4 separate regions of the Homo sapiens genome follow, and all the other regions are linked to region 3. The links are contacts of gene promoters, found by promoter capture Hi-C in blood cells and fetal thymus (Javierre and others, 2016). All regions are on one chromosome and are shown on one strand. Each heading gives the region's core, a stretch centred on a gene start or on the middle of the fragment in contact. The rest is flanking DNA. Distances are from core to core; before and after follow the strand shown. Region 1 overlaps HSDL2 (hydroxysteroid dehydrogenase like 2). Region 2 overlaps HSDL2 (hydroxysteroid dehydrogenase like 2). Region 3 holds the start of INIP (INTS3 and NABP interacting protein). Region 4 has its middle 23 kb from the start of PTBP3.

Region 1 (2,901 bases), core at 4-2,503, 330 kb after region 3:
TCCATTGTTTTTAACTTTTTCCAACTTTTTATTTGTAAATAATTCAAATTTAAAGTTGCAAGAATAATAGTACAAAAAAAATATTCACATATCCTTCACCCAGATTCATGTATTGTTAATATTTTACCCCAATGATTTAGCATTTGTGCTCATTTTCTCTCCTTCTCCCTTTCTCCTTCTCTATATCTTATTTTCTCCAAACCACTTAAGAGTGATTTGAGGCCAGGTGCAGTGGCTCATGCCTATAATCCCAGCAATTTGGGAGACCAAGACGGGGATCACTTGAGCCCAGAAGTCGAAACCAGCCAGGGCAACATAGTGAGACCCTGTCTCTACAAAATTAAAAAATTAGCCATGTGTGGCAGTGTGTGCCTGTAGTCCCAGCTACTCGGGAGGCTCAGTCAGGAAGACTGTTTGATCCCAAAGGTTGAGGCTGCAGTGAGCCATGATTACACCACTGTACTCTAGCCTGGGAAACAGAGACTGACCCTGTCTCAAAAAGAAAAAAAAAAAAAGTGATCTGAATACATCAAAGCTTGGTCTCTCATGTATCTACTTTCACAGTATTTTAATTTTGTCAATTGACTCAATAATGCCCTTTAGAGCATTTTTTCCTTCCACTACAGGACCCGGTTTAGGGTAGTGCTTTTAATTGACATATCTCTTTAGTCTCCGTTAATCTAGAACATTTTTGCAGCCTCTTCTGTCTTTTATGATATTGACCTTTTGAAAAATACAGTCTGCACTCCTTTTTTAAAAAATATAATGATCCTTACTTTTTTTTTTCCAAGATGGAGTCACACTCAGTCGCCCAGGTTAGAGTGCAGTGGCACTATCTCAGCTCACTGCAACCTCCACCTCCCAGGTTCAAGCAATTCTCCTGCCTCAGCCTCCTGAGTAGCTGGGATTACAGGCATGCACCACCACACCTGGCTAATTTTTTTTTGTATTTTTAGCAGTGACAGGGTTTCACCATGGTCTTGGACTCCTGACCTTGTGATCCACCCACCTAGGTTCCCAAAGTGCTAGGATTACAGGTGTAAGCCACCACACCTGGCGTATTTTTTTTTTTTTTTTTTTTGAGATGGAGTCTAGCTCTGTCTCCCAGGCTGGAGTGCAGTGGCGCGATCTCGGCTCACTACAACCTCTGCCTCCCACGTTCAAGTGATTCTCCTGCGTCAGCCTCCCGAGTAGCTGGGATTACAGGCACGCACCACAACGCCCAGCTAATTTTTCTATTTTTAGTAGAGACGGGATTTCACCATGTTGGTCAGGCTGGTCTTGAACTCCTGACCTCGTGATCTGCCCGCCTCGGCCTCCCAAAGTGCTGGGGTTACAGGCATGAGCCACTGTGCCTGGGTTTTTTTTTGTTTGTTTTTTTCTGAGACAGGCTCTTGCCCTGTCACCCAGGCTGAAGTACAGTGGTGCAATCACAGCTCACTGCAGCCTTGACCTCCTGGACTCAAGCAAATCTCCCACCTCAGCCTCCTGAGTAGCTGGGACTACAGGCACACATCATCAAGCCCAGCTAATTTTTTTATTTTTTGTGGAGACAGGGTCTCACCATGTTGGCCAGCCTGGTCTTGAATGCTTGGGCTCAAGCGATTCTCCTGCCTTGGTCTTGCAAAGTGCTGGGATTACAAGCATGAGCCACCACCCCTGGCTGAATGCTCATTTTGGATTCAACTGATATTTCTTCATGATTAGATTCCGGTTATGCATTTCCAACCAGAACATGTGATACTGTATTTTCCTCAGTATATCCCATAGGGCAGCATACAACGTCCATCCGTACTCACTTTATAATGTCAATTTTTATCATCTAACCATAGTGTTACCATATTTCTCCACTGCACAGTTACTATTCCTTCCCTTGCAACCAATAAACAATCAGTGCAAAAACGAAGACTCTTTTTATTATGGAATTTTCAAATACATTTAAAAAACCAGAAAAGAGTATAATAAGCTTCCATGTTTATTCAACTACTAAATTGTGAAAGCAATCATCAGAAAACAAATCCTAGGTAGGCATGGTGGCTCATGCCTATAATCTCAGCACTTTGGGAGGCAGAGGTGGGCAGAACGCTTTAGCCCTGGAGTTTGAGACCAGCCTGGGCAACATAGAGAAACCCCATCTCTACTAAAAAATACAAAAATTAGCCAGGCATGTGGTACGCACCCATAGTCCCAGCTACTCAGGAAGCTGAGGTTGGAGGATCACCTGAGCCCATGACACGGAGGTTGCAGTGAGCTGATTTCACACCACTGCACTCCAGCCTGAACCACAGAGTGAGACCCTGTTTCAAAAAAAAAAAAAAGAAAAGAAACCAAATCCCAGAGGTTATATACTTTCACCTATGAATACTTCAGTATTTACTTTTCTAACAGATAAAAACTTTTAAAATACCAATGTCATTATTATACCCAAGAAAATTAACAATAATTTCTCAATATCACTCAATATCTGTCTATGTTCAAACTTTTATAACTATCTCAGTTTTTCTTATGGTTGGCCTGATCAAATCAGGATCCAATAAGGACCTCACATTACATCTGGCTGTTATACCTTAAGAGTTTCTCTTTTAATCACTGCCAGCTTCCCTTCCACTCTTTATGCCATTTATTTGCTGAAGAATATACATCATATGTCCTGTAGTGGAGTCCATATCTGGGATTTTGAACTTCTCATTTTTATTGACATGTACTATATACTTCTTGCAGATTTTTGCTCGTGTAGAAATCTAACTTACTATTATTTTTTGAGAGAGTCTCCCTTTGTCGCCCAGGCTGGTGTGCAATGGCACAATCACAGATTACTGGAGACTTGACCTTCCCAGCTCAACTAATCCTCCCACTAAGCCTCCTGAATAGCTAGGATCACGGGTGTGCATCACCACGCTT
Region 2 (3,163 bases), core at 24-2,523, 310 kb after region 3:
ATGAATGTTTTAAGAAATCAGAGAGGCCGGGCACGGTGGCTCACGCCTGTAATCCCAGCACTTTGGGAGGCTGAGTTGGGTGGATCATGAAGTCAGGAGTTCGAGACCAGCCTGGCCAATGTGGCGAAACCTGTCTCTACTAAATATACAAAAATTAGCTGGGCATGGTGGCAGGCGCCTGTAATCCCAGCTACTCGGGAGGCTGAGGCAGGAGAATCGCTTGAACCCAGGAGGCAGAGGTTGCAGTGAGCCGAGATTGCGCCACTGCACTCCAGCCTGGGTGACAAGAGCAAGACTCAGTCTCAAAAAAAAAGAAAAAAGAAATCAGAGAAAGAAAAATATAATTCTGATTAGTTGGCATGGTGAGGGAACTGACTTTGTGAAGAAGATGAAATTTAACCACATAAAGGAAGAATTTTTTCAAAAACAAATATATAAGGCACAAGTGCAATTTTCTCACATACATAGATTGTGCAGTGTCCAGGACTTTTAGGGTATCCATCACCCAAACAGCAAACATTGTACCGATTAAGTAATTTCTCTTCATCTACCCCCCTTGCATCCCTTCTTTCTTCCCAGTCTCCACAGTCTATCATTCCACACTCTTTTTCTTTTTTTTTTTTTTCTTTTTGAGACAGAGTCTTGCTCTGTCACCCAGGCTGGAATGCAGTGGTGCAATCTCAGCTCACTGCAACCTCCACCTCCCAGGTTCAAGCAATTCTTCCACCTCAGCCTCCTGAGTAGCTGGGATTACAGGCATCCACCACCATGTTCAGCTAATTTTTGTATTTTTAGTAGAGACGGGGTTTCACCATGTTGGCCAGGCTGGTCTTAAACTCCTGACCTCAAGTGATCTGCCTGCCTCGGCCTCCCAAAGTGCTGGGATTACAGGTGTGAGCCACCACGCCCAGCCTTATCAGATGGTTTTAAATCATGTTCTGTGTGAGCAAATACGTATTTCTCCAAAGACTCAGAAAATTCAAAACTCAAAACAAATTTTTAAATTAACATTATAGTTATACCTTTATTTTACCAATATCCAATAATTTTTTCAGAATGAAGGTATTACCTCCAAATTTCTTGATGGCTTTCTCCACTGCAGCACTGATCTGCTGTTCATCTCTCACATCAACAATACATGGCAAGGCCTTTCCTCCAACTGCTTCAACTTATATAAAGGATACAAAATGAAAAAGCGTTAAAGCATTTAAATATTATACCTTTAATTCCAATATCACAGTCAAAAGAAAAAAGTACCCTGTTTTCAGAAAATCAATATAAATAACTCTATCTTACCACCAGTGACTCTACCATATAGCAGGACAGACTAGCTAGGCTAACACTATTAAAAAACAAAAACGAAGGTTTGGTGGGGGTTTCTTTGTAATTTTTTTAAAAAGCTAAAAAAAGGAAGTTTTTTGTTTGTTTGTTTTTGTTTTTCAGACAGGGTCTCACTCTCTTGCCCAGGCTTGGGTGAAGTGGCACAAACACAGCTCACTGCAGCCTCAATCTCCCAGGCTCAAAGGATCCTCCCACCTCAGCTTCCCAAGTAGCTGGGACTATAGGCATGCACCACCACGCCAGGCTAATTTTTCTATTTTTTGTAGAGACACGGTTTTGCCATGTTGGTCAGGCTGGTCTCGCACTCCTGACCTCAAGTGATCCACCCGCCTTGGCCTCCCAAAGTGCTGGGATTACAGGCTTGAGCCACCTCACCCAGTTGAAAGTAATTTTTAAAAACTTTTTATTGTGGAAATATTCTAAACTATATAAAAATGTAAAGATGCTGTAATAAACTAACAGGAATCCATCACCTATCTTCAACGATTGTTAGTTTTGTCAGTTAATATGTTTATCTTTCCTGTCCCCTGTTTTATTTTTTGCTGGTGTGTTTTAAAGCAAATCCCTGACATCATTTCACTCATAAACACTTCACATGCATTCCTCTAACATAACCACAGTGCTCTGAACATGATTAACAAAACTAGCAATGTCAACTGAACTTGAATTTTTAAGCCCTCTCTCCTGGCTCTGTGCCTAGCGCTATGCCTTAAATAGAAGTATGTGATAATTATTTGTCAACTAAAAGTATTAAAATGATGACTTGCAAATTGTACAGAGAATAAATAACACAGAACGCTTTCTCAAAGAGTTCATGCCACTCACCAATCAAATTCTCTCCTCTCTACTCCACTTCCCTACTCCCCCTCCCATCCAAGAACCACTGCCCTCAAGAACCAAGATTTTTTTTTTTTTAAGAGATGGAGTCTCGCTCTGTCACCCAAGCTGGAGTGCTGTGGCATGATCTTGGCTCACTGCAACCTCCACCTCCCAGGTTCAAGTGATTCTCCTGCCTCAGCCTCCCGAGTAGCTGGGTGAAATTACAGGTGTGAGTCACCACGCCCCGCCATGAAATAAGATTTTTAACTGGAGTTTCTCACATTGCTTAAAAGTGCTGGTGGAGAAAAACGGTCAGAAGCACTGCCCCAAGGTGACAACATAAATACTTCTTTCACTAGATAAAATTATGTTCAGGGTAGCTTTCAAATAGCTTTAACTAAACTCTCCAGCAAATTCTCTATGTATTGAAACCACTAGAAAGACATTTTATCAAATGGCACTGTCACACTCACTTTCTTCAGCAGCAGTATAGATTGTGCCTAGAAGTTTTGGATGTGGCTGGGCGGTCTTTGCAGCAATAACAATATTTGCTCCATCCTTTGCTGCTTTCAATGCAATAGCTTTGCCAATGCCACGGCTTGCACCTGTGATAAAAACTGTACATCCTGCCAGCCTCCTACAACAGAACAAATACGACCTTATTAGAAGACCCAATGTTTTATTTACTGACAGGTATCAGAACCTCATGCATATTTTCATAATATATGTTTCCTCCTCTGTGAAATTTTCTCTAAACCCTCCCCATGCCCATCTGATGGCAGATAACTCCACTATACTCCCATTGCACAATGACTGATAAATTATTTATGACAACTGCAGTTGGCCAGTCTTGCTGTGATTTAGCAAACAAAATCTGTTCAAATGCAAAGCAAATCTTCAAGAGAAATAAAGAATTATAAAACAAATTATATAAACATGCATTTTTTTCCCCACAGAAAACGTGTTAATAAAGCTTTTTTTTTTTGAGTGGTGGGATTATGAG
Region 3 (3,128 bases), core at 589-3,088:
AACCAGGGCTCACCATCATTAAGTGGCAAAGCTCGAATTTGCATTCAAGTAAACTGACTCACTATTAACCACTGTGTTAGAGGTTAACACAATGAGGCAGAAGTTCCAAAAACTCTAGGAGAAGACAGAAGGGTTTCAAGGGCTATGACCTACCAAGTAAAAGGCAAAAGAATTGGCAGCAAGTTAAATTTATCTTTCTCCTGATAATGTTCTTTCAACTCTCAGAGGCTGAATTTGCTAAGAAATTATAAAATGTTGTTTAGGGTTAGAACTGTTTTTACTCCCACCTCCTTAAATAAGCTTTGTTCAGAATGTCCATTTGAAACTTAGACTGGAACTTTCTGTGCCCTAGTTTCTATATTAGCTAGGCCACAAAACAAAAAAAAATTCTAAGGTTCTATCAGCCATATAGATCTCAGTCATCTTTTTAGTCATACTAGAACTCACCAAGTCCTCTTAACTGAAAGGACTCCTGGCCTACCATCAAAATGCTCATGTGTTAGGCTTTATATCTGGATTAAAGTCAAGTCAGCAAGAACTGGTCTCAGAGGAATTCATTCCTCCAGAGCAGAGGCAATGTGTGAGATTTAAGAACTCAGGCCTTAGCATCTGGCAGATCTTTAAATTTGAATCTTAGCTCGCTACTTGACATAGAGCAAGAAACATGAGTCTCAAATATAAATCAGGGAACAGCAGGACCAGAGCTGATGCACAGGAAGCACCTCGCATTGTAGAAGGCACTCAATAGCTGCTTGGTATAGAGTAAATACATGCTTGGTTTTCAGTAAATAAATACTTGATATTGAAACGATTATTTCAGTCATTGATCCATGCACAAGAAAATTGTGCATCATAAACATTTTACTCTTGAGCAAACATCAATTATTAAAAACATATGTTCAAATTCATTATCCATTCTATTTAATTAAATGCTTGAGGCGCTTGGGGAGCTTACATTTGTGATTTAAGTCTGTGCGTTTTTCAAATGTATCTTTCGGAAGAGATTAAGACACTGCAATTTTAAGCAGGGCAGGTGGCTCACGCCTGTAATCCCAGCACTTTGGGAGGCTGAGGTGGGCAGATCCCTTGAGGCCAGGAGTTCAAGACCAGCCTGGGCAACAAAGCGAGACACTGTCACCATAAAAAATATTTTTTTAAATTAAAAAGAGTGCAATTTGAACACATGTCAATATACGATTACCTTTTAATTCAAATGTGTAGCTATCTACTGTGCTGGAATCAGGTGGGCAGCAGGTGATCCCACTAGTGGCAACTTGGTGTTCTGCGATGTGGCACATCCACTTCTTAAATGCAGATTATTGCACTGTAATAAAAATCCTCCATATTCAGTGCTTTCATTGTGTATAATTATGTAAACTGTAGACAAAAAATATTCCTGAATTTGTGTGTGTGTGTGTGTGTGTGTGTGTGTGTGTGCGGATGCGCAATCCGAGATGGTTGTTAAAGCTCGAAAGCGAGTTTAGCTTCTAGAGTCGCCCCTCCTCCGAGGCCCAGCCGAGGTGGACTCGCACCGTCGCAAGACCGGCCAGGCGGTGGCAATGAATAAAAAGCCAGTCTTGGTGCTAGGGACCCAGGTGTTCTCCGTCCCGCCCCTGCCTGGCAGCCCCGCCCCTCCCCCGCCCCGGGCCACGCCCCACCCTGGCCCAGCCCCCAAAAGTACCGTTTGCATCTCCCGTGAGCCTCTTCGACTGTCACTCTTTGGAAAAAAAAGTGACGTCTGCACTGAGGTGGCCGCTAAAGTGCGAATCACGACGGGCGGTGGCCGTTGGGTCCCGGCGGGAGGCGGGGTTTCCGCTCCCTGGGGCGCACGTCAGTCAGGAGGCGGAAGCGCAGCGGGGGCGGGAAGGTTGTAGTGCCGCGAGTTGAGCTCCTCTTGCCTAAGTGGTCGCGCCCCCTTTAAGAGCAGCGATTGTAAGGAGAGGCGGTCCCGGTGTCCTCGGGTCCCAGGTAAGTACGACAGTCTGGAGGCACCGGGCAATAGAAAAGTGTGGCTCCGGTGCTAACCTGTCGCCGCCGTCTTTGTTGCTACAGGCAGCGACCTCCCTTCCGACCTTGCCACCTAACATTTCTGGCTCCTACTTGCTTCCTTCGTCTCGTTCACAGCCCGGGCCCAGCCGGCTCTGCACATCCGTAGGCAGGGACCTTTCTGGCACGCCAGTCTACCCTGTCACAAGATGGCCCTGTTGTCCTCCAGTCCTAACCCCGCATTGCTCGCTCTGTGTTTCAGCCGCTGGAGACACCTAACGATTCATTTACTAAAAACCGGTGTCTGTTTTCTATCCCTTGTGTCTTTCCCGGGCTCCCTAGACTAAGGCATCACTCTTTGCTGCCAATGAAATCAATTCTTTGCCTCCGGCACTGTGCCCACCTTTTAAAGAGCGGGTTTGTTAAGCTTTTTTTTTTTTTAATTAATAGTATGGTTGCTTGAATAAGACTTTATTTTCCCTTCTGAAAGCAGGATTAGGGTCTTGCTCATCTTGGATCTCCCCAGGATTTAGTACGAAAGCACGAAGTTTGGAAACCAGCAGCCCAAATAATTCCTACTAGCTCTATGACCCTGGGTACGGTTTCCTCATCTATAAAATGGTGATAAATAAATAAAGGAACTAATTTCGAGCATGTTACACAGTGTATGGTGCAGAGCAGATACAGTACTCCTTTACCTTTTTTAGCTTTCAGTGTACACAGTAGTTTTTGGGTATGTGTTTTAGACGAATGCAGAGACACCATAGATGAATGATTTTTCTTCCTAGCACCATGATTATATTGACTCTATCAATTGGTTGATATATTTGGTAAATACAACCTAATGACGTTTATTAAAGACAGTAATGCTAAATGGTATGAACATCTGCAAGAATAAACAATGCCGTATTTAATTAAATGCTTGAGGCACTAGCAGAGTTTACATTTGTTTCAGTCTGTGTACATTTCAAATGTATCTTTCTTTCTTTTCTTTTTTTTTTTTTTTGAGACCGAGTCTCGCTGTCTCGCTCTGTGGCCCAAACTGGAGTGCAGTGGCGCGATCTCGGCTCACTGCAACCTCCGCCACCCGGGTTCAAGTGATTCTCCCGTCTCGCCCTCCCGAGTAGCTGGGACTGCAGGCG
Region 4 (3,156 bases), core at 259-2,758, 360 kb after region 3:
CATTTTTTGTGGGAGGCTGTCATGTGCATTAGAGTATGTTTAGCAGCATTCTTGGTCTGTACCCACTACATGCCAGTAGCATCAGTGGCACCCTCCTTCCAGTTTGTTTTTGTTTTTTTGAGACAGAGTCTCACTGTCTCCCAGGTTAGAGGACAGTGGCATGGTATCTACTCACTGCAACCTCTGCCTCCCACGTTCAAGCAATTCTCCTGCCTCAGCCTCCTGGGTAGTTGGGATTAAAGGCACCTGCCACCACGCCCAGCTAATTTTTTATTTTTTTTAGTAGAGACAGGGTATCATCACGTTGGCCAGCCTGGTCTTGAACTCCCGACCTCAGATGATCCACCTGCCTTGGCCTTCTAAAATGCTGGGATTACAGGCATGAGCCACCGCGCCTGGCCAAATTTTTTTGTTTATTTTTGTAAAACATACCTAACATAAAATTTACCATTTTAACTATATTGAAGTGTACAGTTCAACGGCATTAAGTACATTTACATTGTTGTGCAACCATCACCCCATCTATCTCCAACTCTTCCAGTTTTGTCAACCAAAAATGTCTCTGGAAATTGCCAAATGTCCTCTGGAGGCAAAATTGCTCCAGTTGTTTACACCTTCTCCAAGGTGAATAAGAAGTCAAAAATGTCGATGTCATAAAAAAATAGAAAGAAAGTCTAAGAAGCTGCAATAAAGAAGAAATGACAATTCAACGCAACACATAATCCTGAACTGGTTCCTGTATAGAAAAAAAAAATTGCTATAAAGAACACTATTGGCAGGCTGGGTGCAGTGGTTCACACCTGTAATCCCAACACTTTGGGAAGCTGAGTCTAGCAGATTGCTTGAACCCAGGAGTTTAAGACCGGCCTGGGCAACATGATAAAACCCTGTCTCTATAAAAAATACAAAAATTAGTAAGCATGGCTGCCTGCGCGTAGTCTCAGCTATTCAGGAGGCTGAGGTAAGAGGATCAACTGAGCCCAGGAAGGTCGAGGCTGCAGTGAGCTGTGATTGCACCACTGCACACCAGCCTGGATGACAGAGCAAGACCCTGCTCAGAAAAAACAAACAAACAAAACAACAACAACAACAACACAAAAAGAACACTACTGGAAATTAACAAATTGGAATATGCAGTAGAGATTAAAGTATTGTATCAGTAATGAATTTCCTGATTTGACAACTCTGCTGGGTTATGCAAGAGAATTTCCACGTCTTAGTATGAAGTATTAAAAGGTAGAGGGAGGCCGGGTGCGGTGGCTCATGCCTGTAATCTCAACACTTTGGGAGGCTGAGGTGGGCGGATCACCTGAGATCAGGAGTTCGAGACCAGCCTGACCAACATGGTGAAACCCCGTCTCTACTAAAAATACAAAAAAATTAGCCGGGTGTGGTGGCGGGTGCCTATAATCCCAGTTACTCGGGAGACTGAGGCAGGAGAATCGCTTGAACCTGGGAGGTGGAGGTTGCAGTGAGTTGAGATCACGCCATTGCACTCCAGCCTGGGCAACAAGAGTGAAACTCTGTCTCAAAAAAAAAAAAAAAAAAAAAAGAGGGAAATGAATATACACCTGCTCTGAAATGAAATGGTTGGGGCCAAATTGTGTGTGTGTGTGTGTGTGTGTGTGTGCGCACACGCAATTGTCTCAAAAGCCTCTTGAGTCTTTCCCTTATATCTCTGACAATCCCACTGCTCCAAAGTACACTGTGGGTTTTCCTCAACTTGGAGCTAGATACCTGGAATTCTAGAAAACAATTCCCTCAGTAGACAATTGCTCCCTTATATGAGCACAAGCAGCGGAGTGACTACATGGATCAAGCTGTATTTCACCATTTTTTTTTTTTGCTCTGTTGCTTTATGTACCACACCAGCCCCACACAACTCTTCACCAAAGAGTTGTGGAATTATTGCATAAGAGAAAAAAATCTTAACTATATGACAACTGCTATGTCACACAGACTGCTAGTGGCTTACCCACTACTTCTTACCAACATTATTTTTAGAGGTGACAATATAACCAGCAAAAACACTGCACCTCCCAGCCACTTTTACAGCCAGGGATGGCCACATGACCAAATTACGGCTTATGAGACGTATGTGGAAGATGCTGGGAAGGACTTCTGGGAAAGCTGCTTTAAAGAGTTTCCAGTCCGGTACTGTGGCTCACACCTGTAATCTCAGTACTTTGGGACGCCGAGGCGGGTGGATCACCTGAGGTTAGGAGTTCTAGACTGGCCTGGTCGACATGGTGAAATCCTGTTTCTACTAAAAATACAAAAAATTAGCTTGGTGTGGTGGTGTGCGCCTGTAATCCCAGCTACTTGGGAGGCTGAGGCAGGAGAATCCATCTAAGAGAGAGAGAGAGAGAAAGGGAGGGAGGAAGAAAGGAAGAAGGAAAAGAAGAAGGAAAGAAGGAAGGAAAGAAAAGAAAGAGAAAGAAAGAAGGAAGGAAGGAGAAAGAGAAAGAGAAAGAAAGAAAGAAAAGAAAAGAAAGAAACTTTTATTTCCAGGTGGGGTGTGGTGGCTCCTGCCTGTATTCCCAGCACTTTGTGAGCCCAAGCCGGATAGATGGCTTGAGTCCAGGAGTTTGAGACTGCCTGGCCAACGCGAAACCCTGTCTCTACAAAAAAATACAAAAATTAGCCAGGCGCGGTGGCGCATGCCTGTAATCACAACTACTCAGGAGGCTGAGGATTGCTTGAACCCAGGAGGTCAAGCCTGCAGTGAGCTGTGATCACGCCACTGCACTCCAGCTTGGGCAACTCCCCAACACCCACCCTCCACAAAAAAAAAAAAAAAAAAAAGAAAAAGAGTTCTTAGCCATTTTGTAATCTTAAGAATGATGAAAGCCATATGCTTATGTAATGGAAACAAAAGAAGACGGGTCTTTGATGAACATGAAATGGAGTGTCATATCAGCCCTGAAACCACTACTTCTGAACTTCCTTTGCATGAGAAATACATTTGTATCTAGTTTATCTTGTTACTGAGTTTTCTGTTGTATGCAGCTGGACCTAACTCTTAAATGATACTCAGTCTGAAGATAAAATTATCACAAGAATATAAACCATCGCAAAGGCCTTGAGCACACCTGGATCCCTACTATTGCCCCTTGTCTTCACATCTGCATTTCTTTCTCAGAGCATTGATGTTGT

What was found. Contacts are between HindIII fragments. The CHiCAGO score rates a contact against its expected background, and 5 or more counts as called.
Region 1: a fragment that was not itself captured here is called in contact with the fragment with the promoter of INIP in region 3 in 5 of 17 cell types (fetal thymus, endothelial precursors, total CD8 T cells and 2 more); the score reaches 7.9 in fetal thymus.
Region 2: a contact is called between a fragment that was not itself captured here and the fragment with the promoter of INIP in region 3, in 1 of 17 cell types (megakaryocytes). The highest score is 5.0, in megakaryocytes.
Region 4: a contact is called between a fragment that was not itself captured here and the fragment with the promoter of INIP in region 3, in 2 of 17 cell types (fetal thymus and megakaryocytes). The highest score is 6.0, in fetal thymus.

The regions. Positions count from the first base shown.
Region 1 is chr9:112,386,641-112,389,541 of GRCh38, reverse strand. All of the region lies in intron 1 of HSDL2 (hydroxysteroid dehydrogenase like 2), which reads right to left. Among named protein-coding and RNA genes, the nearest start is that of HSDL2, 8.0 kb to the right of the region's middle. The HindIII fragment of the contact is 1,431 bases long and covers 538-1,968 here.
Region 2 is chr9:112,403,629-112,406,791 of GRCh38, reverse strand. HSDL2 (hydroxysteroid dehydrogenase like 2) reads right to left here. Exons shown (of 11, transcript NM_032303.5): 2 at 2,634-2,797; 3 at 1,070-1,168. Among named protein-coding and RNA genes, the nearest start is that of HSDL2, 25 kb to the right of the region's middle. The HindIII fragment of the contact is 3,724 bases long and covers 1-3,135 here.
Region 3 is chr9:112,716,827-112,719,954 of GRCh38, reverse strand. It overlaps INIP (INTS3 and NABP interacting protein), which reads left to right and starts at 1,838. Exons shown (of 5, transcript NM_021218.3): 1 at 1,838-1,968. RefSeq lists a silencer at 1,627-1,786 and an enhancer at 2,157-2,256. The HindIII fragment of the contact is 2,113 bases long and covers 303-2,415 here.
Region 4 is chr9:112,355,271-112,358,426 of GRCh38, reverse strand. It overlaps a transcript of PTBP3 not described here. Among named protein-coding and RNA genes, the nearest start is that of PTBP3, 23 kb to the right of the region's middle. The HindIII fragment of the contact is 4,467 bases long and covers 1-3,156 here.